Regions from separate parts of the Homo sapiens genome. Here region 2 is linked to region 1. The links are contacts of gene promoters, found by promoter capture Hi-C in human tissues and cell types (Jung and others, 2019). All regions are on one chromosome and are shown on one strand. The core of a region is centred on a gene start or on the middle of the fragment in contact, and the rest is flanking DNA. Distances in the headings are between cores, read along the strand shown. Region 1 holds the start of ZNF439 (zinc finger protein 439). Region 2 overlaps ZNF44 (zinc finger protein 44).

What was found. The method cuts DNA at HindIII sites, captures the fragments that hold promoters and counts their contacts. A contact is called where the count stands out against the background at its distance.
Region 2: a fragment that was not itself captured here is called in contact with the fragment with the promoter of ZNF439 in region 1 in 2 of the 25 tissues and cell types used here (dorsolateral prefrontal cortex and mesenchymal stem cells).

The regions. Positions count from the first base shown.
Region 1 is chr19:11,844,508-11,851,087 of GRCh38, forward strand. It overlaps ZNF439 (zinc finger protein 439), which reads left to right and starts at 4,219. Exons shown (of 4, transcript NM_001348719.2): 1 at 4,219-4,423. The coding sequence starts at 4,361. The HindIII fragment of the contact is 2,018 bases long and covers 3,889-5,906 here.
Region 2 is chr19:12,272,774-12,279,353 of GRCh38, forward strand. ZNF44 (zinc finger protein 44) reads right to left here. Exons shown (of 4, transcript NM_016264.4): 2 at 3,183-3,309; 3 at 2,200-2,260; 4 at 1-1,290. Among named protein-coding and RNA genes, the nearest start is that of ZNF44, 19 kb to the right of the region's middle. The HindIII fragment of the contact is 9,813 bases long and covers 1-6,580 here.

The sequences.
Region 1 (6,580 bases), core at 2,969-5,468:
AGGACAAAGCAAGAAGGCATCTAGCTGTAAGCCAGGAAGATAGCCTTCACTGGGAACAAAATTGCTGGCAGCAAGATTTTGGACTTCCCGCACTCCAGAATTGTGAGAAACAAATGTTTGCCGTTTAAGAAACTGAGTCCATGGTATGAGTCCATGGTATTTTGTTATACCAGCCTGAGCTAAGTCACCCCAAGAGTCCTCACATTAACCATATACTGTCGTACAAGTGCTGCATTTGGATCTACCTGGAATGTCTCCAAGTCTTCTACTTTTCCTCTTGGACCCATTGTGAGAATAGGTTTTGCTTCATAGGCAACTGCTGGTGATAGTAGTGATAGCCCATAACAACTAGGGAGTTAAAGAAACTTCCTTTCTCTCTCTCTCTCTCTCTGTTTTTGAAATGGAGTTTTTGCTCTTGTTGCCCAGGCTGGAGTGCAATGGCACGATATCGGGTCACTGCAACTTCTGCCTCCTGGGTTCAAGTGATTCTCCTGCGTCAGCCTCCCGAGTAGCTTGGATTACAGGTGTGCACCACCACGCCTGGATAATTTTCGTTTTGTTAGTTACAGACGGGGTTTCACCATGTTGGCCAGCTTGGTCTCGAACTCTTGACCTCAGGTGATCCACCTGCCTTGGCCTCCCAAAGCGCTAAGATTACAGGTGTGAACCACTGTGCTCGGCCTCTTTTATATGTGTGTGTATATATATATATTCTCTTTTTTAATAAAAGTAAATAGAAACTAGGTCTTACTATGTTGCCCAGGGTGGTCATAGCCCAAGATTTTGGGCTCAAGCGATCTACCCGCCTCGCTCACCCAAAGTGCTGAGATTAAGGCGTGAGAAACTGTGCCAGGCCAAATGAAAGAAACTTAGTGGGAGGCCTGGCACAGTGGCTCACACCTGTAATCCCAGCACTTTGGGAGGCTGAGGCGGGTGGATCACTTGAGCTCAGGAGTTCAAGACCAGCCTGGACAGCATGTTGAAACCCTGTCTTTACTAAAAATACAAAAAATTAGCCGAGCATGGTAATCCCATTCTCACAGTCATAGAAAGGTTCTTTTTTAAGGATTCTACCTACTTGAGAGCATCATATACTGCCAGCACTTGTTCACTTCAAGAGTGTCTGGTTTCATCTCTATGACATAATTACAACCAAAATCCTAAAGGAACTGATTTACCACACTGTGTTTGCCATAAGGCCCAATTTGTACCTGCAGCAGCAGCTGTATCATCCCAACTCACAGCTCTACCCTCTAAAGGTGTGCCTGAGGCTTGTGATCCAGTCCATAGGGAAATATCACTACCTGCTGTGTTTTATAATTGGACCATCCAAGGGTTGTCAGGGTTTTCCCAGAGAGTTTTGTGGGATTTTTTTTTTTTTTTGAGACCAGGTCTTGCTGAAGTTAGTATGGCAGCATACTAACACATTAACCTGTCGAAAGCTTCCTGCAGAGCTGTGTCCCAGTCTCAAAGTGCCCCTTTCTAATAATTCTATATATTGGTATCAAACTTTGGGCTAAGTGTCAGATAAATGCTCTCCAATAATCCAAAGACCAACAAATGTCTGGATTTCTTTTTTCTTTTTTGTTTTTTAAGAGACATAGTGTGGTTCTGTTTCCCAGGCTGGAGTGCAGTGGTGGGATCATATAGCTCACTGCAGAAACTCCTGGGATCAAGGGATCCTCCTGCCTCAGCCTCCCAAGTAGCAGGGAATAAAGGCACATGCCACCATGCCCAATTGTTTATAAATTTTTTTGTACAGATGGAGTCTCACTGTATTTTCCAGGCTGTTCTTGAACGCCCAGGCTCAAGTGATTCCCCAACCTCAGCCTCCCAAAGTGCTGAGATTACAGTCATGAACCAATGCACCCAGCCCTGAAAAGGAAATATTTCGAATGGAAATTCAAAGGGAGAACATCTAATGTTCAAGTTGATGTCTATAGAGCAGTTAACGGGAACTATCATTTAGGGTCTGTGGGATTCTAGGACACTAGGTATGAAACAAATATGAGGAAGGTCAGAGAACAAGCTGACTTAATGATTAATGCTGAAGGTGCTGCCAGCTTGGTTTAAGTTTTCCTCCTCCCTTCCTCCCTGATGAATTTGATAAAGTTTAAAGGGATGGTTTCACCAGGGGCCTTTTACATTGACAGCAAGGAGGTCATCCGCCTGGTAAATCCTCAGTAGTCCAAGCCTCTTACATGGCTAGAATGATCCAGTCCATAAGGAAACGTCACCACCCTCTGTGTTTTACAATTAGACCATCCAAGGGGGTCAGGGTTTCCCCAGGGAATTTGGTGGGATTTTTTTTTTTTTGAGACCGTGTCTTGCTGAAGTACAGTAGCCTGATCAAAGCTCACAGCAGCCTCAAACTTTGGGGCTCGAGTAATCCTCCTGCCTCAGGCTCCTGAGTAGCTGAGACTAAGGGTACACACCACCTCTCCAGGCTAATAAAAAAAAAATTATGGAGATGGGAGTGTCTCACTTCACTGCTCAGGGTGGTCTTCAACTTCGGGCTTCAAGTGATCCTCCCACTTTGGCCTCCTAAAATGTTGGGATTGCAGGTGTAAGCCATGGCACCCGGCCTCCCAGGCTGTTGTTGAAAGGTCTTTGCAATCTCTAAGAGTTCTGCAGCAGTTTATTCCCTGACAGTGAGAGTCTCATCCTTTCACCCCATTTTGCAGCAGTAGTTGGGTGTTCACTTTTCTTTCCATAAGGAAGCGAGCTTGCCAGTGACCCTCATCCCCCTCCTCATCGATGACTTCTTTGTCATCAGAGCCTTCCTCTTCATAAATTCCCACGGAATCCAAGTTTTCACGTCCCAAATTATGATAGCCACAGGCCCTCACCAGCTGCCATAGCACCCCATTTCATGGAAGCCACCTGACTCTTCTTTGAGCATCCTGTCCCAGGAGCCCCCATCTGTGCTCTCCCGGGCTCCAGGCCCTAGAGCCGCGCTGCTGCAGAGCCCAGTTCCCAGGGCTGCTCCCTCCACGTATCCACATCCATCTCCAGCTTTCCACCCTTTCTCTGACCAGACAGGCCTGGAGGTGCTGCAGTGTCAGTGACCGTGGGTCCCTCCGCTGCCACCTCCACCGCGATCTGGAAGTCTTTTAAATGTACTTAAGTTATCTTAGAATTTTCCTTCCCCACTTTATACATAAACATAGGAGGAGAGCAGGGACTCTGCTGGTGTCTTATTCACACAATGGGATTGAGGGTGTTTGTGTCATGGAACTGATCAATGGGGTGAGAAGTAGCTGAATAACCTGCAGGGGCAGCAGAGCCCGAGGCCAGTGACTCCACGCTGAGGCCAGTCTGGAGCCTGCAAAGGAAGGGAAAGGAGCTTTTCCTGGGGGCTTCCTGGGCAGCCCGCCCTCCCCTACAGGTGGCCTCCAGCTGCTCAGAGCAGCTCCAGAAGGAGTGTGGATTCCGAGAAGCTGTAGGGCCCTGGAAAGCAGAAGACCTTCGTGCAGACGCATTTGTGGGGTTCTGTCCTTTCTGGTGTTGTACCTCTGGAGCCTGGGGCTGTCTTCTGGGCAGGGTTTGGGGTTTGACATACATGGGGTCGCTGGAGTCAGAGTTATTTGTATATATAAAGAAAATGTGTGAAAATCAGGCTAGAGACACAATTGTTTGGTGGCGTCACCTGGATAAAAGGTTTATGAGGTTGACAGTTTATTTAGGTCCGAAGCTTAACCCCAGGTGAGAGTTTCCTGCAGGTGAAAATGAAGATCTGGAAGGACGGAGCATTTTCATACTGTGAGGAGGGGATGGGGGTGTGTGAGCAAGTCTTGGCCATGCCTCATCCCCAATTCCGGCCCGCTCGAGGAAATATGCCTCTCCTCCTGGTGCAGTCTTGCCTGGCCTGGTCTCGGTTCCCCTGCTGCTCTGAGGCAGGAGATGGCTCCTGTGGACACTGAGTCTGAAATTCCCTGCACACTCCTGTGACCCCGTGCAGAACGAAGGAGCGGGGACAGTCCTTTGAGTGAGGAAGACGCTAGTGTTCTCTTCTAACAATAGCAAGTTTGGCTGAAATGCAACTATCCAATAACCCGAGTGCAGGAAGCAGCTCGTGTAAGCTTAGAGAAGCTGTTGCTAGAATCTGTCAGTCTGGCTCCGCAGGGCCTGATACCCAGGGCTTCCGCTGTCACTTAGACGTGGGGGGCGGGGCCGAACATTCCATCCAATCAGAGGCACTGGCTCGGGGCCCTGCCCACTGTGCATCCAGGCACGGAGGATGTTGCATTCCTGCCGTCACCTTTGTCGCTGCGAGGGCGGCGGTTGGGATCTGGCCTTTCCAGCCCCGAGAGGGACCTAGTGCCTCTACCCAGATTTCTGTCGCTCTGTCACCTGCGCTATGCCCTGCTTTACTCACAGGAGCTGTAGAGAGGACCCCGGTACATCTGAAAGCCGGGAAATGGTGCGTGTGCTGGCCGGGAGTGGTGCGATGGGGGAGGGGCTGCCTGGAACTGGCGGGACCCGGGCCTCCCTGTGGGCGACTCCGGGGTCTGGGACCGAGTCCTCCTAGAGCTGCTCGGCCCTCGGTCCCCGCGGCCGCTGGATGTGGGTGGGCCGGCAGCCGGGACTCCGGGCGTCCTGTCCCGTCCCTGCCCGTCGACTGCGGCCTTGGCCCCGAAGCCCTTTTGTGCAGCTCCGCGCCCGCAGCCCGACGCCCCAGCTTGTGCGGGGGCCACGGGAGGGTCATGCGCGGATTTCGACTCGGGTGTGGATTTCGTCCGTAGGAGGAGCAGCGGTCTGTGGGGCCCACAGCCTCCACTTTCTCCTGTTAAAAATTATACTGAGGTACGTTAACAAAAAGTTCATTTGAGGAAACAGCCATTCACGAATGAGAAACACCCGGTCCTGGCTTGTGGTTTGTCAACGGAAAAAAAACAGACTATGTAAAATACAGAAGTGTATTCAGAGCCGAGTAGGAGAGACCTTGGCCGAGGGAAACACAACCCCAAGCAGCCTGGAGTAAGTGGTCCGGAGGCGGCTCAGGACAGTTTGGTTTTATTCATTTCAGAGAGACAGGAATTGCAGGGAAAATGATGGATCAAGGCTGGAAGGTGTAAATTCCATTGGCAGAAAGGGTGGGACCTGTGGAAGGGGGGTTAGGAGGCACAGGTGGTTGAGGGATTCTGTAGGTGGCAGCTGGTTGAGAGTGTGAAGCTTTGTCTAAAGTTTGGAGGAGGTAGGAAGGAATGCTGAAGGAAGGGGGTCTGTTATCTGCCACTTCATTCCATCCCAGCCAAAAAACAGTCCTGTTTCTCTAGATTTTATGAATTCTAAGACGTAACTTTACCTTTGCCTTGCGTGGCCTTAGGTCTTGTTTGTAATTTGGTATCTTGTTGCCACAAGGAGTCTGTTTTTCCAGTCAGAGAATGTCTGTTTTTACATGAATGTGCGTCAGTTGCTGCATGTAAACTCCTAAAGGGAGAGGGTATAAGGAGACCTGTCTCACCTCCCATCCTGTCATACAGAGGCACTCAATTTTCAGGGTGTTTTGGGGGTTCCCTTGGCCAAGAGCCAGTCACTTCACTTAGCTGGGAAGGTACTTTGTTTGTTTTTGTTTTTGTTTGAGACGGAGTCTCCTTCTGTCGCCCAGGCTGGTGTGCAATGGCTCGATCTCGGCTCACTGCAACCTCTGCCTTCTGGGTTCAAGGGATTCTCCTGCCTCAGCCTCCTGAGTAGCTGGGATTACAGGCACGCACCACCACCCCCAGCTAATTGTTGTATTTTTAGTAGAGATGGGGTTTCACCATGTTGGCCAGGCTGTTCTCAAACTCCTGACCTCAAGTGATCCACCCCCCTCGGCCTCCCAAAGTGCTGGGATTACAGATGTGAGCCACATCGCCATGCCAGAAGATATGTTTTTATTTTTGTTTTACATGTTTAAGGCTAGGCTTTTATAAGGTACATGAGGAGACAAACCAGATAAATGCTTGATTGGTTGCAGAGATGCAGTCGCCTTATTTGGACTTGTCAACCGGAAATAATCAAAAGGTTCAGATTTCAGTTGGAAGAGTTTATTCAAGCAGAAAGATAGCAATGACCAAAACACAGACTCCAGAAAAATGGACTCAGTACTCCAAAATTGGAAGTTATGTTCTTGCTTATATTACTGAAAAAAGAGGTCCTGATCAGACCCCAAGAGAGTTCTTGGATCTCACACAGGAAGGAATTCAAGACGAGTCACAAAGTGCAGTGCGAAGAGAGTTTATTGAAAGCTACTCTGGGCCAGCATGATGGCTTAGGCCTGTAATCCAAGCACTTTGGGAGGCCCAGGCGAGAGGATCACTTGAGCTCAGGAGTTCGAGACCAGCCTGGGCAACTTAGCGAAACCCCGTCTCTTCCAAAAATAAGAAAAATTAGCCGGATGTGGTGGCCTGTGCCTGTAGTCTCAGTTACTCAGGAGGCTGAGGTGGGACAATCACTTGAACCTGGGAGGCAGAGGTTGCAGCCCAGCCGAGGATGCGCCACTGCACTCCAGCCTGGGTAACAGAGTGAGACCCCATCTCAAAAAACAAAAACAAAACAAACAAACAAAAAAGAGTTGAAGACCAACCTGGCCAAC
Region 2 (6,580 bases), core at 2,938-5,437, 430 kb after region 1:
TGGCGACAAAAGTATTTAAAAGAACTAAATGCTTTCCCACACTCCTTACATTCATAAGGCTCCTCTTCACTGTGTGTTGTTTCATGACTTTGAAAGGAAAATAAATCACTAAAAGCTTTTCCACATTTACATTTATAGGGTTGCTCTCCAGTGTGTGTTGTTTCATGTTTTCGAAGGGAACTGGAAGTACGGAAGGCTTTCCCACATTGCTTGCATTCATAGGGTTTCTCTCCAGTGTGAGTCCTTTCATGTCTTTGAAATACACTAGGAGAATCAAAGGCTTTCCCACATACTGTGCATTTATGAGGGCCATCTCCAGTGTGTGCCATCATGTGTCTTCGAAAGCTTGAGCGATGAGATAACAATTTCCCACATTGCTTACATTCATAGGGTTTCTCTAGAGTGTGAGTTCCTTCATGAATTCGTGCTGAACCAGGAAAATCAAAGCCTTTCCCACATATCTTACATTTATGAGGTCCATCTCCACTGTGCATTATCATGTGTCTTTGAAAGCTTCCAAGATGACAAAACGCTTTCCCACACTGTTTACATGTATAGGGTTTCTCTCCAGTGTGAATTCTTTCATGTACTCGAAGGGAACCGGAAACACTGAAGGCTTTCCCACATTGTTTACATTTGTAGGGTTTCTCTCCAGTGTGAGTTCTTTCATGTCTTAGATATGAACTGTAATCAGGGAAGGCTTTAGAACACTGCTTACATTCATACGGTTTCTCCCCAGTGTGTATTTTTTCATGTCTTAGATAGGAACTGTAAACAGGGAAGGCTTTAGAACACTGCTTACATTCATATGGTTTCTCTCCAGTGTGAGTTCTTTCATGCATACGTAATAAACTGGGCCAAAAAAAGGCTTTCCCACACAATTCACATTTATAAGGTCCATCTCCACCTTTTACTACCATATGTCTTCGAAGGTTTCCAGGAGAACTGAAGGTTTTTCCACATTCCTTACAATCATAGGGTTTCTTTCCAGTGTGAGGCCTTTCACATGTTTGAAAGGAGTGGCGATAACTTAAGCCTTTCCCACACTGCTTATGTGTATATGACTTCTCTGCATATTCATGACACTCCCGGTGTTTGTGTCCAGTATCAACTCTGATGTAGCAATTCAGGGATGAATGACCCATTATGACTTCTCCATTCACACTGCTTCCACATGCATCTACTCTGGCGGGAGTGTTCTTGTTTACAATACTATTTCGAATCTGGCTTAAGGTTTCTCCACACTGACTACCATCTTTACTTTTACCAAATCTCTCTACCACATCACACCTGTAAAAAATGAAAAGTACATTACTAAAGGTTTATTATTGAATTTATATTTATCAACAGGTATTAGATTTACATTTTTAACATTATCAGGCAAGCTATAAGCTTCATGTCCTGCTTCAATGTGAATGGACTGAATGTTGTGCAAGATAACTCAATCCCAGCTATTTTCAAGACAATGATATGCACATGGGGATTCTTAATTCTTTTTTTTTTTTTTTTTTTTTTTTGAGATGGAGTCTCCCTCTGTCATCAGGCTGGAGTGCAGCTGGTGCTGTCTCGGCTTGCTGCAACCTCCGCCTCCCAGGTTCAAGTGATTCTCCTGCCTCAGCCTCCCAAGTAGCTGGGACTACAGGCATGCACCACCACACCCAGCTAATTTTTGTGTATTTTTAGTAGAGATGGGGTTTCACCATGTTGGCCAGGTTGGTCTCGATCTCCTGACCTCGTGGATCCACCCACCTCGGCCTCCCAAAGTGCTGGGATTACAGGCATAAGCCACTGCGCCTGGCCTTTTTTTTTTTTTTAAGACAGGGTCTTGCTCTGTCACTTAGGTTAGAGTGCACCAGTGCCATCACAGATCACTGCAGCCTCAAACTCCCAGGCTCAAGTGATCCTCCTGTCTCAGCCTCCCAAAGTGCTGGGATTGCGGGCATGAGCTACCACACCCAGCCTCATATGGGAAATCTTAATATTGTTTCCATGGGAACTACTTTGCAAACACTGAATAGCTATGTCACATTTAATAATATATTTATGTCACATTTAATAATATATTTTTATAGAGAAATTTTTCTAAGAATAAATAAATTTAAGCTGGGCTTGTTCATAATCTTTGCTTCTTTTTAAAAGTTCTTGTCATTCTCAGAAACACTGCAAGGACATCACCTGTCTCTTATAAGTACAAATTACCTTGGATTTCTCCTGAGATTTTGGTGCTGATCATCAATGTTCTGGTTTTCCCATTTCATTCCTAAAAGAGAGATCCAGAAAATTCACTATAAATTATTACAAAATGATACAAAAATTGTTAAGATTTTATGTACACTACAATCATGTATGATTCATTCATTGAACTATAGTTGACTCCTGAACAACACAGGTTTGAACTGCACAAGTCCATTTATATATAAATGTTCTTCAGTCTCTGCTACCCCTGAGACAGCAATATCAACCCCTCTTCTTAGTTAGCCTACTCAATGTGAAGATGAGGATGAAAACCTTCATGATGATCCATTTCAACTTAATGCAGAGTAAATATAGTTTTTCTTCCTTAAGATTTTCTTATTAATATTTACTTTCTCTAGGCCGGGCATAGTGGCTCATGCCTGTAATCCCAGCACTTTGGGAGGCCGAGGTGGGCAGATCACAAGGTCAGGAGATCGAGACCATCCTGGCTAACATGTTGAAACCCTGTCTCTACTAAAAATACAAAAAATTAGCTGGGCATGGTGGCGGGCGCCTGTAGTCCCAGCTACTCAGGAGGCTGAGGCAAGAATGGTGTGAACCCGGGAGGCGGAGCTTGTAGTGAGCCAAGATGGAGCCACTGCACTCCAGCCTGGGCGACAGAGCAAGACTCCATCTCAAAAAAAAAGAAAAAAAATTTACTTTCTCTAACTTACTTTATTCTGAGAATACAGTATGCAATACATATGACATATATGTGCTCGTCACTTGTTTATATGACTGATAAGGCTGCTGGTCAAAAGTAGGTTAAGCTGTGGCAGACAAAAGATTATATGAGGACATACAACAGGTTGGGGCCTGGCACTTCACCCTGTGTTGTTCAGGAATGAACTGTATCCCTTTTCCATATTTCAAATCACTGAACAGCATTGATGACCACAAAACAAATGTCTCTAATTGACCAAATGAAGACATGATGTCATCCATACCTATACAGTTCAGGTTCCTAATGGTTTCTCGCATCACATCTCTGTAGAGATTCTTCTGTGATGGACCCAGCAAAGCCCACTCCTCATGGGTGAAGTTCACAGCCACATCCTCAAAGGCCACTGAGTCCTGAAACATCCCATATGTCCAGAAAAGGAAGGTTGAAACTCACAGTACTGAGAACCTATACTCACCTTCATAAACTTCCCATGATGCTGTGGTTTCCAAGCATTTATTCAATGACGTGGTAAATCCACTCTTATTCTGTGTCTGCACTCACTGTCTGATGCTGGAATTCTGATGCTGGAATTGGGCTTGCTAAAATAACAGTTGAGTAGGAACATATCTCTTATTGGTGAATTATGCAAGTGAATCTTATTGCCTGGATTACTCCTAATGTCTGTTTCTACAGTGGGTCTGTAGTCCTTGTCATGACAAAGTCCTACCACCTACTGTGCAAAAGAGAGTTACAATTAGCAGTCCTGAGACGGCATATCCTTACAACTGCTTGTTCACAATGTTGAACCTTTCGTGGTGTCTAGACAATGTATTTAGGGGAGGGCCCCGTAAGCATAACTAATAAAGGGGGTGGAGTGTGCCTAAACTATTTGTGTAAAAATTATGGTATTTGCTTAACTCCTAACTTCCCTCTGAGAGTTTGGAATTGTATTACATCCTCAGCAGAGGAAGTGTACCCAATCAGCCACTGCTAGGTTTGAATGTCTTCCCCTCCAAAATGCAGGCTGAAACTGAATCTCCAATGTGGAAGTAATCAAAGGTAGTGGTTTAAGAGGTGAGTGGGTCTTGAGGGTTTGGAACACATGGATGGATTAATCCACTCATGTATGAATGGCTTAATAAATAAACTGGTTATCACAGATGAGGTTCTGGTGTCCTTATGAGAAGAGGAAGATACTTCAGCTAGACACTCAGCCCCCTCATCATGTAATGCCCTGTACCACCCAGGGACTCTACAGAGTCCCCATCAGCAAGAAGATTCCCACCAGATGCCCACTTTGACCTTACTTGATCTTCCCAGCTTTCAGAACTGCAAAAAATAAATATCATTTCTTATAGATTACCCCAGTTCTGGTATCCTGTTGTAAGTAACAAAAAAACAGTCTTATAGACTAAGACATACACAAAGAAACACTCTAGGCACAGGGTCCCTAATGTGCAACTCTGGTAGATGATATTTCATATTTTTGTTGTTGTTGTTTTTTCAATGTCTTACTTGGGGGATTTAGCCTATCCTACGTGATTACACAGAGAGAATATTTGGAAGCTGGTGACTGGTTCCCTGTAGATCAAATGTAGTTAAGTATGACAAAAGACTAATAAAAGAGATTTTACCAACTAAATAGAAAAAATTGTAACTTTCTACTGGGTAATGTCGAAGGAGAAAGAAAAGAAGAGGACAGACTGCAAATGTTCTTAGACAGAATTCAGTGTCAGCTTTCATGAATATCAATTATATTCCATAAATCTCAACAGCAGACATTTAATAATCAATAACATTACATAAACCAATTTTTATAGAAGTCATAAATGTCTAAAGATGCTTAAAAAAAACCTTCTCATCAAGAAAGTAGACAGCTTTACAAAAACAAACAGAAGATTTAAAACTGTAATTTTTCACATCCCATACTATTAACAGAGAGAAAAAGATACATAAACAGGAAAGTGAAAAATGATAGAAAAGCCTTGTATTGTTTTTTCTTTGGCCCCATCTCTGCCCATCTCATTGCCAGTCCTGAAGACAGCAGAGTTCCCAGTGTAGAACTCTGATCACCACAGAGTGTACAGATCACATTTTGTTTCCACATTATTGCCTTTGTATTTTTGAATCAGTCTGGGGACTAACCGAAGGTCTGAAACAAGGCTCTCTTTTCTATTTCATCTACAACAGAATCCAATCAGAGTCAAACTGGGCAGGAACTACTTTAAAATGTTGTAAAATACACAAAAAGTGTGCAACCACCTAGGACAACACAAGATGACTAAGACATACATTAGAAGGCCAGGTGTGGTGGCTCACACCTGTAATCCCAGTACTTTGGGAGGCCAAGGTGTTGGGAACAGGCCCCCAAATCTAGCCATAAACAAAATCTCTGCAGCACTGTGACATGCTCGTGATGGCTATGACGCACATGCTGAAGGTTGTTGGTTTACCGGAATGAGGGCAAGGAACACCTGGCCCACCCAGGGTGGAAAACTGCTTAAGGCGTTCCTGAACCACAAACAATAGCATGGGCCATCTGTGCCTTAAGGACAAGTTCCTGCTGCAGATAACTAGCCAGAGCCCTTCCCTTTGTTTCCCGTAAGGAAGGCTTTTAGTTAGTCTATAATCTATAGAAACAACGCTTATCACTGGCTTACTGTCAATAAATATGTGGGTAAAACTCTGTTTGTGGCTCTCAGCTCTGAAGGCTGTCAGCCCCCTGATTTCCCACTCCACACTCTAAATTTCTGTGTGTGTGTGTCTTTAATTCCTCTAGTGCCGCTGGGTTAGGCTCTCCACGACTGAGCTGGTCTCGGCACCAAGGGGGTCAGATTGCTTAAAGGCAAGGAGTTCAAGACCAGCCTGGGCAATGTGGGGAGACCTCATCTCTACAAAAAATAAACAAAATTAGGTGGGTATGGTGGCGCATGCCTGTAGTCCCAGCTACTCAGGAAAGTAGGAGAATTGCTTGAGCCTAGGAGGTTGAGGCTGCAGTGAACCACGATTGTGCCACTGCACTCAAGTCTGAGTGAAAGAGTGACACTATTTCAAGGAAAAAAAAAAAAGACATATATTAGACCATCTAAGTCCCAGGAGAAAAGGCTAGGGTATAATTTTTCTTTACAAATAAGCATATTTGAAAGCACCCAGATATACTGGGGAATGGAGAAAGCCCCACGCAGGCACAGGAAACAATATATTTTTATAAAAGATGGGTGGGGATTCTGTTTTTCAGCTCTGGCTAACATCCAGATTTAAACAGAAAGAGAAGGCTACAGTAGTAAATACTGTGGCTAAGTGCTCAAAGAATGCCCCAGCAGAGAGCCATCCATGAAGACTGGAAGAGGTCAGGTTTTTGTTTGTTTCATCTTCTTTTTTACTTTTAGCTTCTAACATTCAGGAAATCTCTGTCAGAACGCTGGATGAACACAAGCTAAAGTCAGGAAATCTCTGTCAGAACACTGCATGATCACAAGCTAAAGAACAGAGACTTCAGTGTTTATACCCAGTAGGAAATACAGTCTCTGCAAACTAATTTGGAAATGTTACTAAACAAATGAATAGGCCAGGTGCAGTGGCTGAAGCCTGTAATACCAGAACTTTGGGAGGCTGAGGGAGGAGGACCACTTGAGGCCAGGAGTTTGAGACCAGCCTGGGCAACATAGTGAGATTCTGTCT